2 separate regions of the Homo sapiens genome follow, and region 2 is linked to region 1. Evidence: promoter capture Hi-C in human tissues and cell types (Jung and others, 2019). All regions are on one chromosome and are shown on one strand. Each heading gives the region's core, a stretch centred on a gene start or on the middle of the fragment in contact. The rest is flanking DNA. Distances are from core to core; before and after follow the strand shown. Region 1 holds the start of CDK5RAP1 (CDK5RAP1 mitochondrial tRNA methylthiotransferase). Region 2 overlaps CBFA2T2 (CBFA2/RUNX1 partner transcriptional co-repressor 2).

The links. Contacts are between HindIII fragments. The study calls those that stand out against the background at their distance.
Region 2: a fragment that was not itself captured here is called in contact with the fragment with the promoter of CDK5RAP1 in region 1 in 1 of the 25 tissues and cell types used here (bladder).

The regions. Positions count from the first base shown.
Region 1 is chr20:33,399,986-33,403,183 of GRCh38, forward strand. CDK5RAP1 (CDK5RAP1 mitochondrial tRNA methylthiotransferase) reads right to left here and starts at 1,534. Exons shown (of 14, transcript NM_016408.4): 1 at 1,443-1,534. It overlaps LOC124904889 (a long non-coding RNA gene), which reads left to right and starts at 1,597. Exons shown (of 2, transcript XR_007067567.1): 1 at 1,597-1,690. RefSeq lists enhancers at 1,245-1,334, 1,475-1,674. The HindIII fragment of the contact is 17,720 bases long and covers 1-3,198 here.
Region 2 is chr20:33,560,673-33,563,870 of GRCh38, forward strand. The region is part of intron 1 of CBFA2T2 (CBFA2/RUNX1 partner transcriptional co-repressor 2); the gene reads left to right. Among named protein-coding and RNA genes, the nearest start is that of CBFA2T2, 72 kb to the left of the region's middle. RefSeq lists an enhancer at 1,491-1,785. The HindIII fragment of the contact is 6,939 bases long and covers 1-3,198 here.

The DNA of each region.
Region 1 (3,198 bases), core at 284-2,783:
GTGAGCTGAGATTGCGCCACCACACTCCAGCCTGGGCAACAGAGAGAGAGAGAACTTGTCTCAAAAAAAAGGAAATGGAATGCACAAACTAGATGCCTTGCATATACGCAGTTCACAATAGGGTTTGTGTTCCTGAGAAACTAATTCCGTGGCCAATCTGACGGGAGGCAGAGCTCAGGCAGTAATGCCAGCTTTGCTGCTCACCTCCTGCTGTGCAACCCGGTTCCTCACAGGCCACAGACAGGTACCATTCTACCACCTAGGGTTAGGGGAACCCTGCTATACACGTGTAAAGAGCAGATGTGGCCCATTACCTTTCCAATGAGATGACCTGCCACATCTGCTACTAGCACTTAGGAGCAATGCCAACCCAGTTTCAAGAGTCAGAGAAGAACAGCCTTAAAGTGTGAACTTTAAAATCGCCCCTTTCTACTCCATAATTGCTGTGTGACCTTTGGCAAGACAAATTTCTGTCTCTGAGCCGCCAATTCCACATGTGTAAAATAAGGATAAAAGCAGCACCTACCACCCCATAAGTGTTATTAAGAATAAGATATTAAAAACCCAACTTGAGATACAGTAAGCGTTCACTAACTGCACATTTACAGCCCACACCCCCTTTCACAGAGAGTATTAGAGCATCCTGGTTAAGAGTATGAACTCCACTAAAAATACAAAACTTAGCCGGGTGTGGTGGTATGCGCCTGTAATCCTAGCTACCCAGGAGGCTGAGGCAGGAGAATCGCTGGAACTCGCGGGGCAGGGGCTACAGTGAGCCGAGATCGCGTCACTGCACTCCAGCCTGGGCGACAGAGCAAGACTCCCGTCTCAAGAAAAAAAAAGTATGGACCCTGGAGTCAGAATCTGACCCCACTGCTGCCAAGCCAGCTAAACCTTAGGCACCTGTCTTAAACTCTGGGAGCCTCTAGATGGGGATAATAGCACCTATCTCCATAAGCCTACCGTAGGATCAAATGCAATAATACAAGCAAAATGCTTTGCATAACGCAATGTAGAAGCCTCTCTGGAGGCTCGAAATTAATTCTGACAGTCGGCAATGAGGCTGGAACAACAGCGTACAACATCCCAAACATTTTATTGGCTGGTTACAATGCGTTAGGCATGGTGCAAAGCATTTTCCGCGAATTATTACCTATAACCCTCATAGCAACCCTGTGAGGCAGGCTGTACTGTCAACCCCACTTCACGGGTGGCGAAGCGAAGCCTTGAAAGAAGTGGAGGTGACCTGTCCAAGGTCACACGGGGTTAGGCGGCGGGGTTAGGGTACGAACCCCTACAGCCTGACGCCAGGCCCCACGCCATAACCACCGTGCCATCCTCCCTCTTGAACACCGTGCGCTTCCCGGGATCCGCGGCCCCTCCTGCCCCAGGCGCCAGTCAAAAGCGGGTGCGCAGCCCACCCCGGCGGCCGCGCTGCTCACCTCCCGCAGCAGCAACAGTGCCCGGGGTCCCGCAGCGTAAGTTCTGCCGGCAAGTCGGATCCCCTCACAGGTCCGCCGCTGCGTTCATACACAAGCGACTTCCGTTCCGCCGCTACTTCAGGCCGGGTCATGCTAACGGAAGTGCTTCCTTTTTACAGTCCGGGTGGACCCAAAGCTCCGTGGCGGTGCTGAACTTTAGGGCAGCCACTAGCCACGGACTTAAGCGGCAATTGAGCTCCTCAAAGTGGGTGAGTGCAAATCAAATGTGCGCTAAATGTCAGATACACTGGATGTGGAAGAAGAAATGTCAAATAGTGTCAAATAGTTCATATATATAATGTTTATATTGATTATGTGCTGCAATAATTGTTGGGATATATTGGATTAAATAAGTACATTTGTTGAATTAGTTTTTTTTATTTGTAGCTATGGTGGTAGAAATATTTGAATTAAGTTCACCTGTTGTTTCTTTTTACTTTTTCAATGTGGCTAGCAGGGGGAAAAATAATATGGTGTGATCATGGCTCACTGCAGCTTCCGCCTCCCATGCTAAAGCAATCCTCCCACCTCACACTCCCAAGTGGCTGGGACTACAGGCAGGCGCCACCACGCCCAGCTAAAATTTTTTTAATTTTTTTGTAGAGACCGGTCTCCCCATGTTGCCCAGGCTGGTCTCAAACTCCTACCTAGGCGCAAGCCATCCTCCCACCTTGGCCTCCCAAAGTGCTGGGATTGTAGGCATGAGCCACCGTGTCCGGTCCTTACTGGGAAATTTTAAGTCACCTAAGAGGTTCACGCTCTATTTCTATTGGAGGGTGCTGCCCTGTAGGTTAATGACTTCCTGATTCACATCTCCAGCTGGACCCTCCCTGCAGTACCAGAGCCATAGCTCAGCTGCCTACTTGACACCCCTTCTTGAGTGTCTGATGACCATCTCTAACTTATACAGAACTCTTCATTTCCACACATGCACCTTCACCAAAAACCTGTACCTGTCATTCTGGCCCATCTCAGTAAATGGCCCAACCATCCTTCCAGGTGCACTAGGAGGAACTGAATGGTCATTTTCTTCACCTCCCTGGATCCCCACATTCTATCTGTCAGTAAGCCCTGTCAACTCTAACTCCAAAATGTCAAATCTGTCTACTCGGTAGCTACAACTACCCAGGCCACCATTGTCTCATCAGAAACAATCACAGTAGCCTGCTAATGGTCACCTTGTCTCCTGAGAACAGTTTCCCACACATAGCCTAAGGGAATTTGTGTTTGTTTTATTAAATCAAATTATATCACCCCTCTCCTGAAAACTCTCCGTGGCAGGCCGGGCGTGGTGGCTCACATCTGTAATCCCAGCACTTTGGGAGGCCAAGATGGGCAGATTGCTTGAGCCCAGGAGTTCTAGACTAGCCTGAGCAACATGATAAAACCCCATCTCTACAAAAAACACAAAAATTACCCCGGCATGGTGGTGGGTACCTGTGGTCCCAGCTACTCAGAAGGCTGAGGCAGGGAGGATTGCTTGAGCCAGGGAAGTTGAGGCGGCAGTGAACCATGACCTCAACACTGCACTCCAGCCTGGGTACCAGAATGAGACCATGTCTTGAAAAAGAAAAAAACAAAAACAGCCGGGCACGGTGGCTTATGCCTGTAATCCCAGCACTTTGGGAGGCTGAGGTGGGTGGATCATGAGGTCAGGAATTCGAGACCAGCCTGGCCAATATGGTAAAACCCCGTCTCTACTAAAAATAAAAAATAA
Region 2 (3,198 bases), core at 505-3,004, 160 kb after region 1:
AGATTGCAGATATATCCCAAGTATGGTAGAAGGTTAAGGGTTAGAGAATTATAACCACACCTGTTTGACTATATATATATATATGCAGGGGATCTTTCATGCCGAATCTGTATTCATGTAGATTTTAGTATAGGATATGTGTCATGTAATGTGACCCAGGAAGAAGCCAAGACCCCCGCCTTCCCCTGGCCATCTTTTTTTGCTTTTGCTTTTGCTTTTTTTTTGAGACGGAGTCTCGCTCTGTCACCAGGCTGGAGTGCAGTGGCATGATCTCAGCTCACTGCAACCTCCACCTCCCGGGTTCAAGCAATTCTCCTGCCTCAGCCTCCCGAGTAGCTGGGATTACAGGTGCGTACCAACACGCCCAGCTAATTTTTGTGTTTTTAGTAGAGACAGGGTTTCACCATGTTGGCCAGGATGGTCTTGATCTCTTGAGCTTGTGATCCGCTTGCCTCGGCCTCCAAAAGTGCTGGGATTACTGGTGTGAGCCACAGTGCCTGGCCTTTCTTTTTCTTTTCTTTTTTAAAGATGGGGTCTCACTGTGTTGCCCAGGCTGATCTCAAACGCCTGAGCTCAAGCGACCTGACCACCTTGGCCTCCCAAAATTGCCCAGGCTGATCTCAAACGCCTGAGCTCAAGCGACCTGACCACCTTGGCCTCCCAAAGTGTTGGGATTACAGGTGTGAGTCACTGCACCTGGCTACCACCACCCACAATCTTTTAACTTTTTATTTTAAAATGTAGATTCACAGGAAGTTATAATGAAAAATGTACAGGGAGGTCCGTTGGACCCTTCACTCAATTTGCCCCAGTGGTACCATTTTGTGTAACTATAGTATGGTATCAGTTGTCAACCTTCGATTTTTATTTAGCAGAAATTGACTGAGCAGCTATTATATGCTAGCTCTTTGAGGTATAAAGGATTAAACTCTGACCTTATGGGTTTCTGTCATCTCTCTGGATTTTCATTGTTATTGTTCTTAAAATATTTTTTATTTTGGCGACTCATTGTTGACACTTATATTAGCAGTTATTTTAATGTTAAATATTATGTTATTTCTGACATTTATATTTGCTCTGTTTTAAAACAATTTTGCATTGTGTCCCCATCTTCCATTTATAATCTTTACAGCATCAGAACCATGTTGCCTGCATTGTCTTATTTTAATCACGTGCCAGTTTTGCAGTGCTACCAAGTCTGGATCTGAGAGGCAGCTTGTGTGAATCATTTACATACATTTCTGTTTATATTCCCCAAATTAATTTGCAACTTTATATTTTTCATCCAATTATATGTTCAAAACATATTTTTAATAATTGATTTTAAGAAGGAATTTGTTATATTAGGATTTAAAAACTGGCTCAAAAAACAGAAGCTATTAAACAATAGCAGAAACCAGACAGTATATAGGACTTTAAATGGTAATTGCTAAACATTTGAATGTTCCCAAAAATGTGAGTCTGTGTGTCTCTGTGTGTCTCTACGTGTTATTCCACTAGGGATTTGCACAGATAGGTTTTGCACAATATCCTTGCTGTTATTGTCAGCCATAAACAAATTACACGTATTTAACAAGTTAATGTCAGATTGGCCAGGAGCCACTGGGAGGTGTGTACTTAGTGACATCAGCTGGCAAAGAGCCCTGGTAACAGGGAGGGTTGGAAGGGTAGTGGAGAGAGAGGAAGCAGGAGGGAGGGAGAAAAAGAGAGAGACTGACTGTATCTGGGGATTCTGGCAAGGTGAAGAGCTGGTCTGTTTGGCAGGACCTTCCCATCTGGGATCCATCTGTGTTTCCCTGGAATGGGACAGGCAGCTCTAGTCAGTGAGAAATCGCAGATGTGAGAGAGCTGACACATGTCCAGCTAATGAAAGGAGGAGGAAGGCTGGTCTCCGATTGAGCTTTGAAGATTAGGAGGAGAAAAAGAGGAGCTTTGGAATATCTATTTCAAATAAATTTGGTGTATTTAAGAATCTGGATTGTTTATAATTTGGGCATTTGGGGTAAGTACATTTTAATATAGTTTTGGGGGTTAAAGTGCACAATTCTCTGCCTTTCAAAGCTTTTTACTTCTTTCAAATTACGATGATATGAATGTTTCTTGGTATTTGATACAAGAGTTCAGCCTTTCTACTCAGTTTTATTTTAATGCTTCATTTTATTTATGTTTCTATTTTTCTGTTGCCAACCTTATATTTGAATGTCATGCTTTTTTGAATGCAAGGTTTACTTAATAATTAGATGTAGTATATGAATTCTACAGCTAGAAAAGTAGTCCCACAAATATTTCTGTAAGGTTTTCCACGTTGGATTGTTCTGTGATGTTTAGAGGGAATTTTTTTCCCCTTTAGTATGCATAATACAAATAGGCCATATTAAAAAGATGGCTCATAAAACGCTCTTTTCTATTGTCAGATTTTATTTCAGTATATGCAGGCAAATTATAACTAAAAGAGGTTGAAGCAAAACTAACAGCATCTCTTCGTTTTAGATATATCTAACAGTTTTTCATTTACATTTTGCTCCTATGCTGTTTTCTTCTGTTTTCTTGCTACATATAAAATAAATAACATCAATGAATCTGACTTGAATTGTGAGTTTGGGGTAGTTTTGTGATGCAATAAATTCATGTGCATATAACTACGTACTGTGTTCTGTAGTCCTGGTTAGTTTGTGATGCCTATTTTAGATTTTTGCTATTTCTTATATATAAGAAATAGAGATGGGTCTCACTGTGTTGCCCAGACTAGTCTCTTAAACTTCTAGGCTCAAGTGATCCTTCTGCCTCAGCTTCCCAAAGTGTTGGGATTGCAGGCATGAGCCACTGCACCTGGCCACTTTTTACTGTTTCCATACATTGTATTCATGTTTTTGAGGCCTTCGAATCTAGGCTTCCTTTCCATGTTCTATGGAAAGAACATGAGTTTGGGAGTTACACAAACTGTGTACCCATTATTTACTAGTTCTGTAATCTCAAGCAAGCCACTGTTCTCTTTGAATCTCTATTTTGTGTAATTCCTGACTGATGTTGTTATTGGGGAAATTTGTCTGGCACATAGAAAGCATACAAGTTGGTTTCAAGAGTTCTAGATGTTCACTTTTTTTGCTGCGATAGATTCCTAAACCCCTTGCATTTTTAACTTCAGCTCCTGGGCAAGAATGGGTCTGGCCTGTAGTTCTAGTTTTCAGGGCGCCCTTC